Regions from separate parts of the Homo sapiens genome. Here regions 1 and 2 are each linked to region 3. The links are contacts of gene promoters, found by promoter capture Hi-C in blood cells and fetal thymus (Javierre and others, 2016). All regions are on one chromosome and are shown on one strand. Each heading gives the region's core, a stretch centred on a gene start or on the middle of the fragment in contact. The rest is flanking DNA. Distances are from core to core; before and after follow the strand shown.

Evidence for each region. The method cuts DNA at HindIII sites, captures the fragments that hold promoters and counts their contacts. A CHiCAGO score of 5 or more calls a contact.
Region 1: a fragment that was not itself captured here is called in contact with the fragment with the promoter of HADH in region 3 in 3 of 17 cell types (naive CD8 T cells, total CD8 T cells and non-activated CD4 T cells); the score reaches 6.8 in naive CD8 T cells.
Region 2: a fragment that was not itself captured here is called in contact with the fragment with the promoter of HADH in region 3 in 5 of 17 cell types (naive B cells, naive CD8 T cells, activated CD4 T cells and 2 more); the score reaches 7.4 in naive B cells.

Annotation. Positions count from the first base shown.
Region 1 is chr4:109,401,844-109,405,643 of GRCh38, reverse strand. No RefSeq gene overlaps it. Among named protein-coding and RNA genes, the nearest start is that of SEC24B, 30 kb to the left of the region's middle. The HindIII fragment of the contact is 3,341 bases long and covers 378-3,718 here.
Region 2 is chr4:109,424,224-109,427,519 of GRCh38, reverse strand. No RefSeq gene overlaps it. Among named protein-coding and RNA genes, the nearest start is that of SEC24B, 7.9 kb to the left of the region's middle. The HindIII fragment of the contact is 169 bases long and covers 1,548-1,716 here.
Region 3 is chr4:107,988,014-107,991,783 of GRCh38, reverse strand. HADH (hydroxyacyl-CoA dehydrogenase) reads right to left here and starts at 1,895. Exons shown (of 8, transcript NM_005327.7): 1 at 1,720-1,895. The coding sequence starts at 1,851. RefSeq lists a silencer at 1,899-2,128. The HindIII fragment of the contact is 11,946 bases long and covers 1-3,770 here.

The DNA.
Region 1 (3,800 bases), core at 799-3,298, 1.4 Mb before region 3:
TGAAACAATGCAGAATATTTATGTTTTAACAGTTTCCATTTTATGCGACCTGTGGGGAATGAGAGTTATCCAAACTATATAGGCTGTGCCCCTCTTCCCTCCGAAGCAGCGAAGCCCGCGATGAGAACATTACTGCTGCTCTGGTACTTCCCTCTTATGGAACAAATTTGCAAAGTCTGTGGCAGTGATTCATAGTTCAGGAAAGACACACCTTTCAGAAGCAAAGATGAAGAAAGAAGGATGTTATATGTTTAGTCTTTGCTATTTTTACTCTCTGGTTTTCAGTTAAATTGTGACTTACAATTATTTGGTTATGGTGACCCATTAATTCACCAAACAGAAGCCCTATTTGAGTCAAAGAATCCTGTTTCCAAGCTTAAAAGAAAATGAATCTGTATGTTCTTATACTTTCCCTGTAATATGTTCTGTCATTTTACTAATGCTGAAAGTCTATCCAATAGACCTGGACTCATCACAAATAAAAATTTAGAGTTTCACAGAAATGGGTAAAGAGCAATTAGTATTTTCATTAAGAACTAACAAATATAAAGATCAAATTAGGGTTTTTTTTTCTTGGCCCTTGTTTATAATATGCACTAAAAATTACTATTGTACTTAGGAAGTATTTTTAATATTGAAGTTGACCTAAATTGTACTGAAATACTTGAACCTTCTGGTTGGGTCATATGGTATGGACTGTGTGCCACATAAAAATGCCTTTTATGTATTAATTGTGCCTATATTTCTTTAGCATCTGCCTCTCTCATTGGACTATAGACACCACAAAGACTGTTTTATGTCAACAGTGTCTATATAAATAGGTGCTTAAAATTTTTTGTAGAATCAACTGGCAAATGAATAAATGATGATAAACATTGCTGAATTAAATAAATGAAATATAAGCCAGGGCTAAATTCAACCTTAGTAAACAAATTTGTGAACTGTGAGCCATCCAGACTATTCCTAAGACTGAGTGTAGAAGTCCACTGGTAGGAGACTTCTACCAGTTTACATTTAAGATCTTAAGGAACTTACCATCTTGGTTGTTTCCTAAACTTTCTAGATCCTTAACTTCTACTGCAGAATACAGTTTTTAGCTTTCTTGCTTTCTTTTCTTTCTTTCTTTCTTTCTCTTTCTTTCTTTCTTTCTTTCTTTCTTTCTTTCTTTCTTTCTTTCTTTCTTTCCTTCTTTCTTCTTTCTTTCTTTCCTTCCTTCCTTCCTTCTTTCCTTCCTTCCTTCTTTCCCTCCTTCCTTCTCTCTCTTTCTTCCTTCTCTTTCTTTCTTTCTTTCTTTCTTTCTTTCTTTCTTTCTTTCTTTCTTTCTTTCTTTCTTTCCTCTCTCTCTCTCTCTTTCTCTCCTTCCTTCCTTCTTTCTTTTTTTTTTTCTGGAGTCTCACTCTGTCACCCAGGCTGGAGTGCAGTGGTGAGATCTTGGCTCATTGCAATCTCCGTCTCCCGGGTTCAAGCAATTCTCCTGCCTCAGCCTCCTGGGTAGCTGGGATTACAGGCGTGTGCCACAATGCCTGGCTAATTTTTGTATTTTTAGTAGAGATGGAGTTTTGCCATGTTGGCCAGGCTGGTCTCAAACTCCTGACCTCAAGTGATTCGCCCGTCTCGGCCTCCCAGAGTGTTGGGATTACAGGTGTGAGCCACCGCGCCTGGCCAACACCTTGTTTCCTGACTCTGCTGTTTCATGACAATAAACCCAACATTCAGATAACCAATAGCTGCATAATACTTTCCAATTTCATCTATGATCTCTAGTCTCACTAGATATGCCAGGTCCATGTCAATAAGCATTATTGTCACCCAGGCTGTAGCGCAGTGGCATGATCACAGCTCACTGCAGCCTTGACTGCTGGGGCTCAAGCGATCCTCTGCCTCAGCCTCTTGAGGAGCTAGGACCACAGCACATGCCACCACACCCAGCTAGTTTTTTTAAAAAAAATATTTGTAGAGACAAGGTTTTGCTGTGTTGCTCAGGCTGTTGTCGAACTCCTGGCCTCAAGTGATCCTCCTGCCTTGGCCTCCCAAAGTGCTGGGATTACAGGCGTGAACCACGGGGCCCAACCTTGTGTTTGGTTCTGTGCTAGTATTCTACATACACCATGATGTTTTATTCCTTTATGCCTTTATTAATTGTGATTTCACCACCTTGAATACTTTTTCCTTCCTTCTTTACTTGTGTAACTGCTATACATTCTTTAAGGCTTATCTCGGGCATTACTAGCTCCATAAATCCTTTCTTGAGGCACAAAGCTGGAGTCCCATAAGCTGCTAAACATAGCTCTATTGGAGAACTTAGTATATTTTGTTTTGGTACACATAAACATTACCTGTTTATACATCCATGTTTTCCATTAGATATGAGTTCCTCAAAGTAAAGCAATCAGAAGCACATTAAAGAGAAATACCTCCTATTTCCATTATCAAATATACAAACCTACTTGTTTCAGTATCCAAATACTCTGTCTTACTTCCAAGAGAAATGGATGGACAGCCATTGATTCAGCTAAGGCCGATTCATCTGTTTGGGCACTTCCCTTGCACTTGATTTACAGTTTGTCTAGGTATAGAATTCTACTTTGGAAATAGTTTTCTTTCAGGAGTTTGAAGCCATTGCTTCATTGTCTTCTTGCTTCCGGTGTTGCTAAGAAATCTAAATCATTCCTATCATTCCTTCTTTGTTTATAAAAAGAACTCTGTATTATAGAAAATTTAAAATATGTTCAAAGAGAATTATATGATGAATATATAATATAATGAATTCCCATGTACCCATCACTCCACAATTGTCAATGTATAGCCAGTTGCATTGCCTCTACAGCACATCCCCCACTTCTGACCTTTTAATTATTTTATTTTATTTGTTTATTTACTTCCTTTTTTGAGGCAGGGTCTGGCTCTGTCACTCAGGCTGGAGTGTAGTGGTGCGATCATGGTTCACTGCAGCTTTGAACTCCTGGCCTCAAGGAATCCTCCCACCTCAGACTCCTGAGTAGTTGGGATTATAGGTGTGCACCACCACGCCTGGCTAATTTTCTGTAGAGATGGGGTTTTGCCATGTGGCCCAGGCTGGTCTCAAACTCCTGGGCTAAAGCAGTCTGCCCACCTCGGCCTCTCAAAGTGTTGGGATTACAGGTGTGAGCCACCACACATGGCCAACTTTCAATTATTTTAAATCAAAATCCAGAATTACTCTGTTTTATTGTAAATATTCAGTATTTTTCTCTAAAAGAGATAAAGGATCATATTTCCAATCCTTTGCATGTAATTAGTTTTATTCTCTCTGAGAGTTTAGGAAATTATTTTTCTTCTTAGAGTTCTGAAATTTTATGATATGTCCATTGTGCCTGTTTTTCTGTGGGCCTTTTCTATCTGTAATCTCATGTTCTTTGCTTCCAAGAAATGTTCTTGAATTGTTTCATTGATGATTTCTTTGCCCCATTACTCAGATGTTGGACCTCTTAGAATGGTACTCTAACTTTCTTTCCTTTCTGTTTTTCATCACTTTGATTTTTGGTTCCACTTTTCTGACAGATTTTCTCAACTTTCTCTTCCTACCCACCTATCACAGTTTCCATTTCTGCTATTATATTTTAATGTCTTAGAGTACTTTTCTAATTTTCTGCATGTTTCTTTTTTGTGGTATCTTGTTTTTGTTTCACGGATGCAATATATTCTCTCTTTTCCTTTTTGATAACATATTTTTGAAGCTTCTCTGTCCTCCAAAGTTGCCTTCTTTTCTTTGCTTATTTTGGGTTCCATCTTCTTGATAGAGGCTTTCTTCATCGAGTGTC
Region 2 (3,296 bases), core at 383-2,882, 1.4 Mb before region 3:
GGGATTACAGGAGTGCACCACCACACCGGGCTAATTTTTTAAAATTTTTAGTAGAGGTGAAGTCTTGCTGTGTTGCCCAGGTTGGTCTCTCAAGTAATCCTCCAGCCTTGGCCTCCCAAAGTGCTGGGATTACAGGTGTGAGCCACCATGCCCAGCCTAGATTTATTTTTATGTATAAAACTAAGTTAAAAGATCATACGAAGGGGTATTTCTGTGTTACAAAGGATTGGTTTTAAAACTTTTTTTACTAGTTGAAAGGATAAACTTCAATTACCTGAAAAATGTAAAACACAACTGTTTCTTTAAAAGAGAAAAAGCTAGACAAAAAATGTTGTTGGGGCAGACACAGTGGCTCACACCTGTAATCCCAACAGTTTTGGAGGCCAAGGTGGGAGGATCACTTAAGCCCAGGAATTTGAGACCAACCTGGGCAACAGAGTGAGACCTTGTCTGTACAAAAAGTTAAAAAATTAGCCAGGTGTGGTGGCGTGTGCCTGTGGTCCTAGCTACTCAGGAGGCTGAGGCAGGAGGACCACTTGGGCCTAGGAGGTCAAGCCTGCAGTGAGCCATAATTGTGCCACTTACACACTCCAGCCTGGGCAGCAGAGTGAGACTCTGTCTCAAAAATAAATAAATAAATAAATAAAATTGTTGAACATACTAATTCAGTTAGAAAGGACACACTTTTAAAAAAGAATATTGATAAGTCAGAGCACCACTATGATGGCAGGGTGTTTACAAAGCTTGTGGTACACCATATACAAAAATCAACTCAAAATGGACTAAAGACTTAAAAACCTGAAACTATAAAACTAATAGGAGAAAACATAGGGAGAGATCGTGCCACTGCACTCTAGCACAGCGACAGAGTGAGAGTCTGTCTCAAAAAAATGAAAAAATTAAAAGATTTTTCCGTATAACAACTTTCTTCTTCACTAACGAAAAGTAGAAATCTAGTATAGTCCTGTAGACAGTTTCTATGTAATAGATTAAAACAAGTTAAAACAGGAATTTCTCCCATAAGATTCTCTCCTTCTAAATACAACAGAGTAGAAGGGGCAGGTGTGGTGGCTCATGCCTATAATCCCAGGACTTTGGGAGGCCAAAGCAGGAGGATCGTTTGAGACGGGAGTTTGAGATCAGCCTGGGTGCATAGAGATACCCTATCTCTACAAAATAATTAGAAATTAGCCCGGCATGGTGACACAGCCTTGTAGTCCTAGCTGCTCAGGAAGCTGAGGTGGGAGGATTGCTTGAGCCCAGGTGGTTGAGGCTGCAATGAGTCAGATATATATATCTGGCTTTATATATACACCTTTGTTTTATATGTATATTATATACTTTATTATATATACATAAAACAAAGTAGAGAATGTTAGTCCCCGGAATTTCTCTGTAAGAAAATGTCTCATGCAAAAATCATTCAGGAGGAGAAAAATATACTTTGTAGGGGATGCTACATGCTTCTTGCCAAGAAGAGAGAGAGAAATGGGAGGCCATTAGCTGTCTTCTATGTATGGTTGGTGGGCAGGGGTACAAGAGAAGCTTCTCACTTTTACACCATGTGGGAAGAAGGTAGTGAACAGGGTAGAAAGAAAACTGTGAGATAACAACATGGAAGGATTGGGAGATTGAAAGAGGAGGAGAATTTTAGCAGCCGTCATAAGTAGGGAACTTTGGAGGGAGGAGAGATATAGAGAAGTATTGTTGGAAGCTTTACTTTCTATTTTTCTGGGAGAGACCCCTGTGTTACACCTTTACGGAAACTCATAATAAAAATCTCGATCGTTTATCAACATTAGTCTCATTATTTTTGAACGAGAATCCCCACAGAAATGATATCACATGACACTTGAGTTGTAAATTGTACAAACTGCATTCAGAAGCCATCACCAAGGCCTAGCTGTTCTTTTTCCTGAATCTAGACCATTTATGTCATATGAGTATCTACTTTCCAAAACTGAAAGCTCCTCACTTGGTCTTCCACAGAACTCCAGTGGAGCTCTAAATTGTATAGCTGAAAATGGGGCATATAATTCATACACTTTCACCATAATTCAGGGCAGGGAGGGAATGTCACTGGTTATGGTATCTGTTAGTTTTCCCTGTTAACTGACATTTGGAAAATATGTGCTCTGAGACACTCACACTTTGGGTTTAGATAACGTTTCTTCTCTCGGTGTCTGTGTTTCATGTTGTTGTTGTAATTGGCCAATAGCGCTGTAGTTGCTGCCAATATATAAGTTTGTTGCAGATACAAAATATGGACATTTTGATAGTTAATGTGCACACACACATAATACACAATAGGCATAGTCATAATTTTGTTACATGATCATTTGGCACAAATGATGAAACTGTGCACAAGTTACTATAATTAATGCCCTATACTTTCTTTTTCTTTCTTCTTTTTTTTTTTTTGAAACAGAGCTTTGCTTTTGTAGCCCAGGCTGGAGTGCAATGGCTCAATCTCAGCTCACTGCAACCTCCGTCTCCTAGGTTCAAGTGATTCTCCTGCCTCAGCCTCCGAAGTAGCTGGGATTACAAGCATGCACCATGCCCCGCTAATTTTGTATTTTTAGTAGTGTAGGGTCCAGCCCTACAGGGCCTGTGGGTTTTTCCTTAGTGTGCAGAGATGAGAGATTGTAGAAAAATAGACATGAGACAAAGAAATAGAAGGAAACACAGCTGGGCCCAGGGGACCACTACCACCAATGCGCGAAGCCTGGTAGTGACCCTGAATGCCTGGACACACTGCTATTTATTGTATGCAAGGCAAGGGGGCAGGGTAAGGAGTTTGAGTCATCTCAAATGATTAATAAGGTCAAGCAAGTCACGTGTCCACGTGACGGGGGGCCTTTCCCTTTGTGATAGCTGAAGCAGAGAGGGAGGACAGTATATGTCAGCATTTCTTCTGTGCACTTATCAGGAAGATCAAAGACTTTAGTACTTTCACTAATTTTGTTACTGCTATCTTTTAAGAACTTAAAAGGAGGTGCCAGGTGTACAGGCAGAACATGAAAGTGGACAAGGAGCATGACCACTGAAGCACAGCACCACAGATGTTTAAGCCTCCAGATGACTGCGGGCAGGCCTGGCTAATGTCAGGACTCCCACAAGAGTTGGTGGAGCAGTGTTCTCTAACTCCCCCCGGGGAAAGGGAGACTCGCTTTCCCGGTCTGCTAAGTAACGGGTGCCTTCCCAGGCACTGGCGCTACCGCTAGACCAAGGTCTGCCGAGTAACGGGTGCCTTCCCAGGCACTGGCCCTACCGCTAGACCAAGGTCTGCCAAGTAA
Region 3 (3,770 bases), core at 646-3,145:
CTGCTCACAACAAATCTCACTCTCACAGCCTTGGGAGATTTGGGTGGAGCCTGGGAATACAAACGTACTCAAACTAAACTTTCTCTTGAGTATAACCTGTGGAACTTTTAGGTTAAAGGGAGTTACTCCTCCCAGTCCACATACAACATAGATTATGGGGATACTATAACCTAGCAGCCAGGGGATCCACACAATAAAAAGGGCAATGTATGTCCAAAATTATGGTCTCAGAGGAAATGGGAGACTGTAAGAAGTCATATAAATAAAACATTACAGGGATATAGCTTTTAGAAGAAAATGCAATCAAATAAAAACGTTGTAAAAAACTTGCCAAGGAGAAGAAAATTGAGATATATAATACCTAATAGTAAAAGGTTTTTTTGTTTTTGTTTTTAAAAAGCAAGCATGAAAGCGTGGACTTGGTTGGAAACAAGACATTGAAAAAGTAAACTCTCTCATGACTGTAGCCACAGTAGTACTGTCCCCAAGAAAAATTAGATGACTATAACCGCCTTCCCCAACAAACCAAGTTGCAAAGGACTGAAATGCTAAGAATATAATCAGCTAGGATACGAAAACCATGGTTCTCCAATGTGAGCTGAAATGGAATAATTTTTAAAAAAAAAAAGTACAAGCATTACAGTAGCCAGGTAATCAATCACTCGCACAACTGAGCCTGAACCACAGCTCAGCAGAACAATGGAAAAGCCCTGAAGATGTACAATGGATAAAAGACTTGTTCCGGCTGGGTGCAGTGGCTAACGCCTGTAATCCCAGCACTTCGGGAGGCCAGGCGGGCGGATCACCTTTGGTCAGGAGTTCGAGATCAGCCTGACCCACAAGGTGAAACCCTGTCTCTACTAAAAATATAAAATTAGCCGGGCGGGGCGCCTGTAATCCCAGCTACTCGGGAGGCTGAGGCAGGAGAATCGCTTGAACCCGGGAGGCGGAGGTTGCAGTGAACCGAGATCGCGCCATTGCACTCCACTCCAGCCTGGGTCAAAGAGACTCCGACTCAAAAAAAAAAAAAAAAAAAAAAAGAGAGAGACTTATTCCGCTGCAGCGCCAAAATCGCAAGCTCAGAACTCTGCACAGACGGCACTATTTCAAAGGTCAAAACCAGGACCTCAGCAATCTTCCATTAGGTGACTTTACAAAGTGCTACAAAAGTCATGACTACTACTATTCTTTACAACCTAGCAAGCGAAGGAAAGACCGGGGAGAGCCGGGAGGCCGTTTAGGAGAGAAAACTACTTTGACAAAGACTGCACAATTACAGAATAAAAATCAAAAATAACTGATAGAATTAAAACTGATCGCAGTTCATGTCTTTGGCAGCAAACTCCCGTTTGAGCCGAGCAGGAACAAACGCGTTATGCCTGAACCTTGTGCACATACAATTCTTTCTTCTCTTGCACGGCCCGCTTCCAAAATGCATTCACCGCCACTCTCCATGGAACCTTCAGCGGGCCCTGGGGGCAGCCAGAATTTTCCAAACGAGGAAGCTGAGGATCGGCCCAGAACCCTGAATTTTGAGGGGAGTGAGACTTGGGCCCTCACAGGCCCAGACGCGAGATATTTCAACTACACCCGGGAGGCGCGGGGTGAAAACTCCCTGGTGTCGGGCGGGTGCAGGCCCCTCGCGGCCGGTCGCGCCAGAGCTTCCACCTCAGGGTGGGCGGCCAAGCGCGTGGGCACGCTGCAGGGAGGGCCGCTCACCTGGGCAATGCCGGCGCCCATCAGCCCGCCGCCGATGACCGTCACGTGCTTGACGATTATCTTCTTGGCCGAGGCCGAGGCGGTGGACGAGGAGGACACGGAACGCATGAACTGCCTGGTGACGAAGGCCATGGTGTGGCAGCGGCGGCGACAGCGAGGAGACCCGGGCAGGGAAGACGCGCGAGGCGGGCAGCCGCGGAAAGCCAGACTCTGGGGGCGGGGACCTACGCGGCCCTGCAGCCCGCGCGCCCCCGGCGTCCCCGTGACGCCACAAGGCGGGGGCGGGGCCTCGAGTCCCGCTCTGCCCATTGGCCCTGGCTGTAACGTCCCAGCGTTGAGCGGGTATACACGCGCGGGCTCGCAGCTGTCAGCAGCCGGAGCCCGAGTGAGCGCGGGCTTGAGACCTGCTGAGCAGCGGGACCTGGCGGCTGGCGTTCTGGTGTGGGGCCGAGAACAGACCCTTCTTCTGAAAAGCCACTGGCCCCTTGTTCTATGAAGTGAGTGGTGTTGACTCTGTAAAATGCTATCCTTTGATGACATGTGCATATCTAGGCTCTGAAGAAATATGTGCTGCTTGGCTGTGTTGGTAATGGACCCAAAATGTGCACCGTTGGTTGATGTCACCAAATAATCAACTCGGGATTATTTTAATCCCGTGGACAGTGATTGTTTCCCCTAAAAGGGAAATAAATGTAGACTGCGAACACCCAAAACAAATGTCTAGTGACCATGAGTTACAATGCAAAAATCAGGCTCAGGGAAGGTAAAGAGAGAGTTGACCTTTAGTTACCCATCTTGACGTTGGACGTCTATCAGTGCAGTGAACATGTGGACGGTTTAAGGTCATAGAGCAACCTTTCTGGAATAACGAATACTATTAGAAAGCATAGGAAAGAAATGTCTTGTCAAATAATGGAAGACTGGATAGCAGCTTGGCCAATCTTCTCACTCAGGTGAATACTTTCTAATTACTGTAACTTAGTGATATAGGATTCTTATTAATTTATTTGCTTTATGTTTAAATATTGTTAACAAAAAAACTTCAAACAAGTTTAGCAGAGTTTATCTGAGCAAAGAAAGCATGAATCATGTAGTATCCTGAGCCAGTAAAGGTTCAGAGAGCTCCAGCCCCTAACAGTGGGCAAGCCGCGTTTATAGACAATATTTTTTGCAGCCTGTAATGGGCTAAAAGCTCCGCTGCGGTGATTGGCCAAGACTTGGCCACTTGTTAGAAGAACGTACTCTCAAATTACATTGCAGTTTATTTACATATTAGGTTTGATTATGCTTTGCTAGGTAGGGAGGCAACTTTAGGCCAGATTTAATTTAATAACAGTTTCCTCCTTTGGGTCAGCCTCTCAGTTTTACGAGATTGACCAGAACCTTGTTTTGTCTCAGTATGGAAGTCACAATGTCAAATTAGTTGAGTGATTATACTTTCTTCATGTTGTTATTCTAACTGTAATAACACCATTTGGTGTACAAAGGATGGCTGCATAGAGACATTGAAGACTCTCGAGGGGACAACAACACATCAGGGAGACTATTATGGCCACGAGAAGGAGTATAGCAATAAACTGAGGTACACACCTTAACAGGAGTCTCCACAAACTGAACTGATCAAAATTAAACAATTCAAAGTTCAGGCAATAAAGATAGTTCAAAGTATTTGAGTCCAATTGGTCATGGTCTAATTTAGGGCATTATGGCGGTTAAGGACTGCTAGAAATGCTTATTTCTTGGTGCCGTAAAGAAATAGCACTTGAACATAAAATTAATTTCTTTAGCAAGGCCATTTTTACTTTCTGCGGAAAGAGTACACTCGCCAGCAGTTTTGCCACAAGAGTACACCGAACAAAGGAGGCAGGGTCATTTATAACCTGACCCGTCCACCTTACTGTTGTGACTGGTTTCCATTGGCTAGAACGGGACTTCACATTCTGTATTTGTCTTGATTGGCTAGCAACTTAGAAATTCTTAAAAGAGGCAAAGGCAGAGGAGAACAAAGGAAGGAGGAAGTAACTTGTGGAATGCTGAGAAGGGAAAAACAC